Linked DNA regions of Homo sapiens: regions 1 and 2 are each linked to region 3. Evidence: promoter capture Hi-C in human tissues and cell types (Jung and others, 2019). All regions are on one chromosome and are shown on one strand. Each heading gives the region's core, a stretch centred on a gene start or on the middle of the fragment in contact. The rest is flanking DNA. Distances are from core to core; before and after follow the strand shown. Region 1 overlaps SDCCAG8 (SHH signaling and ciliogenesis regulator SDCCAG8). Region 2 overlaps AKT3 (AKT serine/threonine kinase 3). Region 3 holds the start of ZBTB18 (zinc finger and BTB domain containing 18).

Region 1 (3,753 bases), core at 1,100-3,599, 570 kb after region 3:
TGACACACTGGAGTCACCTTCTAATGCTCCTCTCTCTGTGACCCTCTCAGTGGGTGGGACCACCCCTAGTCACCATCCCCACAGCTCAGTCTCCTGGTTCCACAGATGAGCCCTCTAGGCCTTCTGAACCTCTCCCATCCCATCCCATCCCACCCACCCATCCATCCATCCCACCCATCCATCCATCCACCCATCCATCCACCCCACCCATCCATCCATCCATCCATCCATCCCACCCATCCATCCATCCATCCATCCCACCCATCCATCCATCCCACCCATCCATCCATCCATCCCCCATCCATCCATCCCCCATTCATCCATCCCACCCATCCATCCATCCATCCATCCCACCCATCCATCCATCCCACCCATCCATCCATCCATCCCACCCATCCATCCATCCATCACACCCATCCATCCATACCACCCATCCATCCATCCATCCCACCCATCCACCCATCCATCCCACCCACCCATCCATCCCACCTATCCATCCATCCATCCACCCATCCATCCATCCATCCCACCCATCCCACCTATCCATCCATCCATCCCACCCATCCATCCATCCATCCATCCATCCATCCATCCCCCATTCATCCATCCCACCCATCCACCCATCCACCCATCCCACCCACCCATCCATCCCACCTATCCATCCATCCATCCACCCATCCATCCATCCCACCCACCCATCCATCCCACCTATCCATCCATCCATCCCACCCATCCATCCATCCCACTCATCCATCCACCCATCCATTCCATGACCTTCACTCTTGAAGTCCAGCTGCCAGCACTTCACATCCAGGTTCCTGCACAGCCTTCTCATAGAGTTGTGTGCTTCCACACGGCCCCCTGGAATCCATACTCCCCGCAACAGCTAGACTAGAAGGATCTCTCTAAACAAAACTGCAGCCCTGCCTCTCTGCTTGATGATTACTTATAGCTCTAATCCTAATCCTATGAGTGCTGAACTTGGAAATGGGGGACATCACAAGCTAGCTATTTTACCTTAAGCCTGAGACTGAGTATCTCTCTCAACCTCAGGTTCTCCATTTGTAAAATGGAGAAAATAAGATCTCCAGACCTGAACCATCAACTCTGAGGGTGGGGCCCAGCAGCATGTGTTTTAATAAGGCCCCTGGATGACTCTGATGAATTCTTAAGCATGAGAACCACTGGTACATTCTAATTCACAGTATTAATCACACATACGAAATGAGTTCTTCTGGAGAATAATTTTTGTGTGGCTTCAATTTTCATCATCAAAACAACCAACTGTCTACATGAAAACTCTCCTAGTCTGCTCCTAAAATACTCTGGCGTCAGTCATGAGAACTTAAGTAAATCCTGTGATCACTTTGAATCTCAGTTTCCTCACATGTGAAATGAGAGGAGAAAACTAGAAGTGAGGTCGGCAAACTTCAGACTACAGGCCACTGCCTGTTTCTGTATGATCTGCCAATTGAGAGTGATTTTTACATTTTAAAATGATTTTTAAAAATCAAAAGGAGTATAATATGTGAACACTGCATGAAATTCAACTTGCAGCGCCCCTAAATAAACTTTCATTGAAACCCAGCCATGCCCATTCATTCACGTTTTGTCTATGGCTGCTTTTGCACCATAACGGCCGAGTAGCTGCGACAGAGAACATATGGCCATGGAGCCTACAATATTTATTACCTGACCTTTTAAAGTTTGCCAGCCTCGGGGCTAGAAGATGACTACATTCTCCTCCAGCTCCATATTTCTACAATCCTATTACTTTACAGATTTTACTGTGTTCCTATCTTCAAATATCGCTAGCTATTTACATAGCAATACACCTAGTCAGCAAGCTGAAGTTTTGAAAATGCAATTACTGCTCTAGGTCATTAATTCTAGTGAATAAACCATGTTAATGTAAAGCTGTATTACTTTGTTCCAACACTTAACCATTGCTGCGGCATTTTACATAATTCCATCTCGTGAACGAGGTCCTATCAGTGAGAACAAGCAGTGTGCTGAGGCTTCCGGAACACGCTCTAGCCCATTATCCTTGCTCAGAACATTAAGGCACTTTCTTTTTTTTTTTTTTTTTTTTTGAGACAGAGTCTCACTCTGTGGCCAGGCTGGAGTGCAGTGGCACAACCTCGGCCCACTGCAACCTCCGCCTCCCGGGTTCAAATGATTCTCCTGCCTCAGCCTCCCGAGTAGCTGGGACTACAGGCACACACCACCACGCTCAGCTAATTTTTTTTATTTTCAGTGGAGTTGGGGTTTAACCACGTTGGCCAGGATGGTCTCGATCTCTTGATCTCATGATCCGCCCACCTCAGCTTCCCAAAGTGCTGGGATTACAGGCGTGACATTAACGCACTTTTAGTGGCTGGTTTGCTGTTTACATTTCCCGTGCCTAAATCTACCCTATTCAATAATGGTTTCAATAAAGGAATTCTTCCTGAGGATCGTGCAGTGGGGAGGGGGTACCACCTTCAATGAAGAGAATGTATGTCCTGTACTGCCCCTTTCCTGGCTCATTCTCTCAGATTCCTAATTAGCCTTGGCTGCCTGCAGAGGAAGAACAGGGGGCTCCTTGGGGATGCCCCCAAGTGATGGGGGGATCAAGTCCTGCTCTTCTCATGAAAAGAATCATATTATGTTAGGGCTGAGAGGCACCTTAGAGAACATTCAGTTCAGCCCATTATGGTGAAGCCAAGAAAGTATAAGTGACTTGCCCAAGGTCAGGCAGCCTGTCTGTAGTAAATCTGGCGCTAGAGCCCACATCTCTTGACTCTAAATCCAGTGAGCTTTGCAGCATCTCAAAATCCTTTTTTGAAACGCCCGACATTCTTCTATTCCATGTCAAACTTGAGAATTTAAGGGAAGGACCCTGAGAGAGAGAACACGCTGGGTAACCTTCTGGGCAGCAGCTGACACCAGTTCATTTTCCGAGGCCTGGGGGCGGGAGAAGAGGGAAATCCCTAGGCCAGGGATTCCCCAATGAGCTCAGTGAGGAGAACCAGACTTGATTTTAATTCTTTTAAAATTTCCAATCTATTGTAGACTAATGGTTTTGTGGAGTACAATAAAAAGGAGGAAGCAGTGTTTGATTGTTTTGAAAATTTCTGACTCAATTTCAGTTCTTGCCTCATCCCAGACCAGTAACAGTTTGAGGACCGTACTCTGGAAACCACACTCTGAGCCACATTGATCTCATCCACAGACTGGTGTTGGCACAAAGGATGCAAAAGAGGCCAGAAGCTTGGAAGACCATGTTGGGAAGCCCACAGTGCCACACTGGCCCCCAGTGAATGGGCCCATGGCCAAGGGGACACTTTCAGCTCTTCAAGCTCCAGCACAGCTGCCTCTGACAGGAACCTAAAGCCTCTGACAATATCACCGAGGCTCTTCAAAGACCAACTTCTTCAAACAGTGCTTCTACCAAAAAGGAGGCACAGCTTCATCTTAGGGCAATTAGATCTGTTGAATCACTACCTTGTAACCTTCTTAAAATACAAGTGCTATCGAACCAAGGCTGAGTTTGTAATACCTTTGGAAGACTGGGCATGAATAAAGGATCCTGACACCATGAAACAGGAGTTGACACGTTATGAATCTTAGACTTTGAAGAACCTAGAAGACCATCTGCCTGAAGTAAGAGTTACCTTAATCAGCTTTGTCTCAAGCAAGAACAGACTAATGGTGAGGATAGCCCCACTGTGCAAAGGAAATGGGACAGAGGAATGGAAATTGTTGAAAATC
Region 2 (3,696 bases), core at 435-2,934, 520 kb after region 3:
CTTTTCTTCTCCTTACTTTGGATTTAATTTTCTCTTTTTCTAGTTTTGTAACCTGAAAGCTTAGATTATTTGTTTTCGATCTTTTCTAATTTGTGCACTCAATGCTATAAATTTTCCTCTAAGCATTATTTTAACTGTATCTCACAAATTTTGATGTTTTATTTTCATTTAGTTACAAATAGTTTTAAGTTTTATTGAATTATTTAATATGTGTGTTGTTTAGAAATGTGTTGTTTAGTCTACAGGTATTTTGGAGCTTTCCAGCTATCTTTCTGTTACTGATTTCCAGTTTAATTTCATTGTGGTCTGAGAGCATACTTTTATATGATTTTTAAAAATTTGTTAAAGGTGCATTTTATGGCCCAGAACATGGTCTGTCATGATGAATGTTCTGTGTGAGAAGAGAAGAGTTACATATTCTGCTTTTCTTGGATAAAATATTCCATAATGTTGATATTAAATCCAGTTGATTGATGGTGCTGTTTAGTTCAGTTATGTCCTTAACTGACTGGGGGGACATGTTGATGTGTCCAACTATAATAGTAGAGTCATCTGTTTCTCCTTCCAGTTCTATCAGTTTTTGCCTCACGTATTTTGATTCTGTTGCTAGACACATACACATTAAGGACTGTTATGTTTTCTTGGAGAATTGGCCCAGGTATCATTATGTAATGCCCCTCTTTATCTCTGATAGTTTTCCTTGCCCTACTTTGTCTTAAATTAATATAGCTCCTCCCACTTTCTTTAAATTACTATGAGCATGCCTATCTTTTTTCCATCCCTTTACTTTTAATCTATCAGTGTCTTTATATTTAAAGTGGGTTTCTTGTAGACCATATAGTTAGATCTTGTTTTTTTTATCTACTCTGACTGTCTCTGTCTTTTAGCTGATGTCTTTAGACCACTGACATTAAAAATGATAATTGATACAGTTGGATTTCTTACAGGTTTTTTTGTTTTTCTTTTTGTTTTTGGAAACGGAGTCTCGCTCTGTTGCCCAGGCTGGAGTGCAGTGGCACAATCTGGGCTCACTGCAAGCTCCGCCTCCCGGCTTCACACTATTCTCCTGCCTCAGCCTCCCGAGTAGCTGGGACTACAGGCGCCCACCACCACGCCCGGCTAATTTTTTGTATTTTTAGTAGAGATGGGGTTTCACCATATTAGCCAGGATGGTCTCGATCTCCTGACCTCGTGATCCGCCCACCTCAGCCTCCCAAAGTGCTGGGATTACAGGCGTGAGCCACCGCGCCCGGCCTTCTTACAGTTTTTTATCCATTGCCCTTGCTGTTTCTTTGTGTGTGTGTGTATCCCATTTTTATTCTGCCTTCTCTGGTTTAATTGAGCATTGTATAAGGCAACATTTTTCCCTCTCATAACATATTAATTGAATAAATTATGCTTTTTTAACTTTTTTTAACTGCCAGCCCTTGAGTTTGAAGTATACACTTATAACTAATTCAAGTCCTCTTTTAAATAGCACCATTCATTTCACAGATAGTACAATTGCCATAGGTACTTTGCTCTTGTGTAGAATATTCTATAAATGTCAGTGATAGAATTGGCTAATAGTGTTAAGTCTTCTGCATCTTTACTGATAGCTTAATGGCTTGCTTTTATCAGTTACTAAGAGAGAAGTGAAACCTTCAACTATAATTATGGCGTTGACTATTTCTGTTTATAGTTCTATCAGTTTTGACATTTTTTTAGTTCCATGTGTAGATGCACCCAAATTGTAGTATTGTTATATCTTTTTGGTAGTTTTACCTCTTCATTATTTTGGTTAACCAATTTATTGGTGTAAAGATTACAACGGAAATAAATGAAATCGATAATTGAAAAGCAATAGAGAATAATGACCGAAACCGAAAGTTGGTTATTTGAAAAATCAGCAAAACTGACAAAACTTTAAATGGATTGACTAAGGAGGAAAAAGAGAAAAATGAAATACTGAATCAGAAATGAAAAAAGATATTACTCCTGACTTGAGAGAAATAGAAAGGGTTATAAGATGATACTCTGAAGAAGTGTATGCCACCAAGTTGAGTAACCTAGATGAAATGGACACATTCCTGGAAATACACAAATCACCAAAATGACTTAAGAATAAATTGAAAATCCAAATAGACCCCGTAACTCTTAAAGAAATAAAATCACTAATCGCAAACCTCCCACCAAAGAAAAGCCCAGGGCCAGTTGGCTTTACTGGGGAAGTCTACCCAACACTTAAAGAAAAATTAATGCCAGTCCTTCTCAAACTCTTCCAAAAATTTGAAGAGGAGTGAACACTCTCTCACTTGCTCTATGAAGGGAGCATTATCCTGATGTCAAAACTAGAGGCATTATAAGAAAAGAAAACTACAGACCAATGTCCCTAATGAATACAGATGCAAAATTTCTTAACAATACTAGCAAACCATTCAGCAGTATAATTAAAGGATTGTACACCTTAACCAAGTAGATTTATTCCAGGAATGCAAGGATGTTCAACGTATAGAAATTAATCAGTGTAATGTCCCACATTAATAGAATGAAGGAGAAAACTTGCATGATCATTTCAACTGATGGGCAGCATTTGACAAAATTCACTCCTTTATGATAAAAACAGTAAAAAGAAAAAAAAGCTAGGAATAGAAGGAAACTGCCACAACATTATAAAGGTCATATATGAAAAATTCTTGGAAAGACTGTCCTTTAAGGGATCATTTCTATAGTTTGGAAAACCCTCAGCTCACATTATATTCAATGGTGAAAGACTGAAAGTTTTTCCCCTGAGATAAGGAAGAAAACAAAGATACCACTTTCAACATTTCTGTTAACGTGACACTGGAAGCTGTAGCCAGAGGAGTTAAATAAGAGAAATAAAAAGCAATCAAATTTGCAAGGAAGAAATAAAACTACCCCTACTAATAGGTGACATGATCTTATATGTAGAAAACCCTAAAACATACACACACACGTGCCACACTTGTGCTTAGAACTAATACATTCAGTAAAGTTGCAGGATGCAAAAGCAAGCTAGAAAATACATTGTATTTCCATATACTAGCTATCAACAATGTAAAATTGATCTTAAGAAGATCAATTTCATTTAAAATAGCATCAAAAAATGTCTTAGGAATAAATTTAACCAAGGAAGCACAAGACTTATACACTACCGACTACAAAACATTGCTGAAAGAAATAAAAGAAGACATAAATGAATGGAAAGACATCTCATGTTTATATATTGGATATTTAATTTAAGATGAGAGTACTCAAAATGATAATACAGATTCAGTGCAGTTTTTTCTTAATCTTATGGTAGAATACTATTCAAGAATAAAAAACAACTCAAATTTATAAGTATCAATATTGATAAATCTCAAAAAACAAACACAGAAAAACAAAATACTGAGGATATTTACAGAATACCGTACTACAAAAACTGAAAATGCACCATAAAAAGCATTGTATTTATGACAAAATATATATATGGGAGAAAACTATAAAAACTTGCATGCAAATGATATGAAGTAACTTCAGGACAATATTTGCTTGAATCATAGGTGATTGCCATTCTCACAGGTTAAAATGGTTGAACATTTCCAGGTGCAGTGACTCATTCCTGTGATCCCAGCATTTTGGGAGGCCAAGGTAGGAGGATTCCTTGAGCCCAGGAGTTCAAGACCAATGGCAAAACCCCACCTTTACCAAAAA
Region 3 (3,795 bases), core at 1,238-3,737:
CTCATTAGAGCCTGGTCAGGAACAACTTTTCAGCGCTCCAGTCCCCATATAAAAAAATTAATTCCGCTTTGGCCGCCGTGGTACATGTCCCTGAATTTTAATCAGGCTTATGACCCAAGCACCACCAAATCACACGGACAAGACCTAAATGCCAGAAGGAAAATGCACACTTTCTGAACTTCCTCACCCCCGCCAAAGAGCTTCCGACGCATCTCCATCTTCCTTGAACCCAAGTTCTAAAAGCCTTCCTTTAACTACAGTCTCTCACTAAGAATAAGAATTTAGATCTCTTCCAGAAGAAATTTAATTAACTCTACTTATCAAATTATGTCCCACAAAACCTACAAAATAGCTTTAATTTCAAAGGGAACAACTCATATAATAAACAAAGAAAAGTCCCAAACATATCCTGGAACATACAAGAAAACTTGTTCAACCATCCTTTTTATTACTTTTGCTACCTGACTGTGCTTAGAAAGCACAGTTTAAACACACACACACACATTTGGCTGAATCAAGAAAAAAAAATGAAATTGCATAATTAGTCCAGAAATTAGCAAACAACTTACTTTTAAAGTCAGGGTGTTACAACAAAAGCCCTGTGTATAAAAACAGATGTTAATGCCTTCAGATTTGCAGGTATAGCACACATGTACGAGATCAGAAGGAGCTGCACCAACAGATGGAAAAGATCATCTTTACTATGAACAAATCCAAAGATTTTTCAAAACGAACTGAGAAAAAAGTAGTTACATTTCTTTGTAGAAACTGTACTTTCAGAATATTAGGAACCAGAGGGGCTTTACTGAACTCCGAAAATTCTCATCTAAACTTTGATCCGTTGCAAGGCAAAATGAGTTTCATATTGAAATTAATTCAAACTTTTAAAAATAAAGGCATACAGCGCTTAAATAAAACTCAAAAGCTTTACAGGTTCAACGTTTTTTTTTAAGCCTTTTTAGAAAAAGAGAACCTTTTTTTTTTTCCTGGTTCTGCCTTACCTCAGCCAACAGAAAATACTTTGTTTCAATATAATTTGATATATTTCTGTTTTCCCACTAGCTTCTATTCTTGCAAATATTCATCATTGCCCTTGTTTTGTGATGAGGGAAAGTGAAATGGAGGGAGGAGAAAGGCAAAGATGTACAAAGGGTCAGAATTCAACTGCAGTGGGTAAACTCCTGAAAAATAAAGAAGACCCGACTTCCCCTTTCCTGTGACCAGAAGCAAGCCTCCACACCACCCATCTCAGCAAGTGCATTTTGGGAATAGATACACTTAATTTAATATTCAGAAATTACTTCCTTTCTTCTTGTTCTTCTACACTTTGCCCAAGACAGACTAAAACTTTATCCTAACCCCAGACACATTCTGCAAGATGCCACTGCTAGAATAAACTAAGATTTACAATACAATCACTTTAAGTGCCCCACAGCTAACATCAATCCTAATCCTTGAGAAGGCTAAAAATAAAGATTGGAGGGCAGCTCACAAGGTAGCCGTGATCAAATTAGGAGGCTGAGAGGACAGAGAGGGACGAAGAAGGAAGCTTATAAACATCTGATCCAGCTGACTGTGGCCATATGGCAGCTGCTGCCCAGATAAAGAGATTAAGAATAGAGGAGTGCGATTACAGCTGTCTGGCCAATTCAGGCAGCTCAAATCTACAAGTTCTAAATTAGTCGCTAACACAAAAACTCCTGCAAATAATTATTGTTATGCTGAAATAAAAGATCTCTTAAATATATATTTGAAAGAGAAATGAGGAAACCAGTCAAACTATTCTCCTGGGGACAAAAGTTTGGTTTTTTTTTCTTCTTCTTAAAAACCTGCAGTTTCAACAGCACTACAGCTGTATGTTTCAGTAGTGCTGCTCAATGTTTTGAAGAATAAAGTTTCACAGAGGAATTAATTATACAACAATCTAGCTGCTTAACTAGAATAATCTTCTCATATAAGTTTGAATGCTGGATTCCAGTTTACTATTTCCCCACCACCACCACCCCAATCAAATCTAAATAGCAGTGAACAACAAAAAAGCATTTTAATCCAACGTGATTTCCAAAAGCAGCATTTTAAAGCCTTTCTTAACATTTCAAAACTTGAAATATTTGTGTATTAAAGTTATTTACTCGCTCAAGTAAAAGGGATAAAAAATTAAAACTAAACAAGCTCAAGACTTTCAACTCCAGTAAGATGTTCATTTAATACTCAATTTCATATATTATTCCTAAACTGGGTTAGAAAAGTAATGTGATTTTTAAAATTAAATAAACAAAACACCAAAACAGAAATATGCTCAATCTAATCTCTTGCTACTCCTACCTTTAGGACACATAAACCTGATTAAGTCCTTTCCTCTGAGTCCTGCTGGCTCCAGGTCTGTTACATCGGTGGAAAAAAAGCAGACTAAGAGAGACAGATGCAAAGTGGAGATGATGTTAGAGAGGAATGAGATACCTTCTCCACCACAGATCCGCACACACTAACTCCCTGTCTGTGTGTTAGAATAAAAGGCTGAGGGATGGCAGGCTGTCAGCTGCTCTGACATCATGTTCAGATGGAAATGCTACCTCCAGCTGTGCTCCTTTTAATGCCATATGCTACTCCTCTACACTCCTGCCACCAGCTTTTTCTTAGGAGAACTTTTCTCTTCTGTTAGTATAAACAAAATACTTCAAAGTCTTCCTTTTTTTCCAAACTTTCTAACAGAAGAAATTGAAAAACTCAGCATATGGAGTTCTACTGTATTTATGGAATAGCAACACTTCTGTCTTAAGTTGGTGGACTGGCTTACATACTGACAGCACACTCAAGCCACGGTGCTATTCAGGAAATCCAGATTCACTTTTATTCAACTCCAACGTTTAGTTTCTAAAGCAGTTTAGGGATATTTTTAAACCAACCCATTTGACATCTCCAGTCCCATTTCAACATTATTACCGCACTTTTTTATTTTTTTCTGCTGAGATAATGGTATACATGTCTCAAATGTTGGCAGACTTGTTCAGAACTATTACTTCAGACTGGTTCACCTTATTATTTCACTCTTATGTAATTACTTATCTACAACTACCTTCTCAGAAAAATTTCTTACACTGCCACAGTCAATGCAAATTTCAATTCTCGGTACCAACAAGCTGAAACTGCACTTTCTGAAATCCTGGAAAGTACTTCAGTTCAACGAGACCAATTAATAAACTGATACAACCTGCTCCAGTCACTTAAAATGAATGCTGCACCTGCATATCTGATCTTTCTGCTCAGAAAAAGCAGAACCTTGCCTTCCCCTTGATCTGTGTCCCTTAACAATCTTTTTTTTCTTTGGGGGGGGGTCACTCTAATGTTTATGATCACAAGAAAATCTTTGTGTGGGGGGAAGCCAGGTCTAGTAAGTTTGAGAACTTTTCAGCCAGTTTGTGGGTCTTTTCTAATAGCTGATGAAACTGTAACGCGACCCGGGCTGGGCTGACCGGTACCGGGCAGGGTGCTGCGACATCTCTGAATGTCAAATACATCTCCTCAGACTCTTGGGAGGGCGAGGGGTAGAAAAGGAACTGGGGCCTGAGGCGCCAGCGTCCCAGCCCTGGTGATAACCACTTCGTTCCCATTAGAAAGCCGTGGCGGAGAGTTAAAGAGTAACAAAACCCGACGACTCCGTCCTGTCCTTCTCGCTTTCCCAAAGTCACAAACCTAACTTTCTCCAACTTCGCGGTGAGTGACATAATTATGAACACTTAGTCCAGGAGACATCCTCGGGAGATCAATTTCTTCCCAGCCACACCACCTATTCTC

The links. The method cuts DNA at HindIII sites, captures the fragments that hold promoters and counts their contacts. A contact is called where the count stands out against the background at its distance.
Region 1: a fragment that was not itself captured here is called in contact with the fragment with the promoter of ZBTB18 in region 3 in 2 of the 25 tissues and cell types used here (dorsolateral prefrontal cortex and hippocampus).
Region 2: a fragment that was not itself captured here is called in contact with the fragment with the promoter of ZBTB18 in region 3 in 1 of the 25 tissues and cell types used here (dorsolateral prefrontal cortex).

What each region holds. Positions count from the first base shown.
Region 1 is chr1:243,477,297-243,481,049 of GRCh38, reverse strand. All of the region lies in intron 16 of SDCCAG8 (SHH signaling and ciliogenesis regulator SDCCAG8), which reads right to left. Among named protein-coding and RNA genes, the nearest start is that of MIR4677, 130 kb to the right of the region's middle. The HindIII fragment of the contact is 9,134 bases long and covers 1-3,753 here.
Region 2 is chr1:243,531,268-243,534,963 of GRCh38, reverse strand. The region is part of intron 12 of AKT3 (AKT serine/threonine kinase 3); the gene reads left to right. Among named protein-coding and RNA genes, the nearest start is that of MIR4677, 190 kb to the right of the region's middle. The HindIII fragment of the contact is 4,559 bases long and covers 1-3,696 here.
Region 3 is chr1:244,049,975-244,053,769 of GRCh38, reverse strand. ZBTB18 (zinc finger and BTB domain containing 18) reads right to left here and starts at 2,487. Exons shown (of 2, transcript NM_205768.3): 1 at 2,326-2,487. The coding sequence starts at 2,338. RefSeq lists enhancers at 1,211-1,712, 3,429-3,478 and a silencer at 3,159-3,248. The HindIII fragment of the contact is 6,539 bases long and covers 1,238-3,795 here.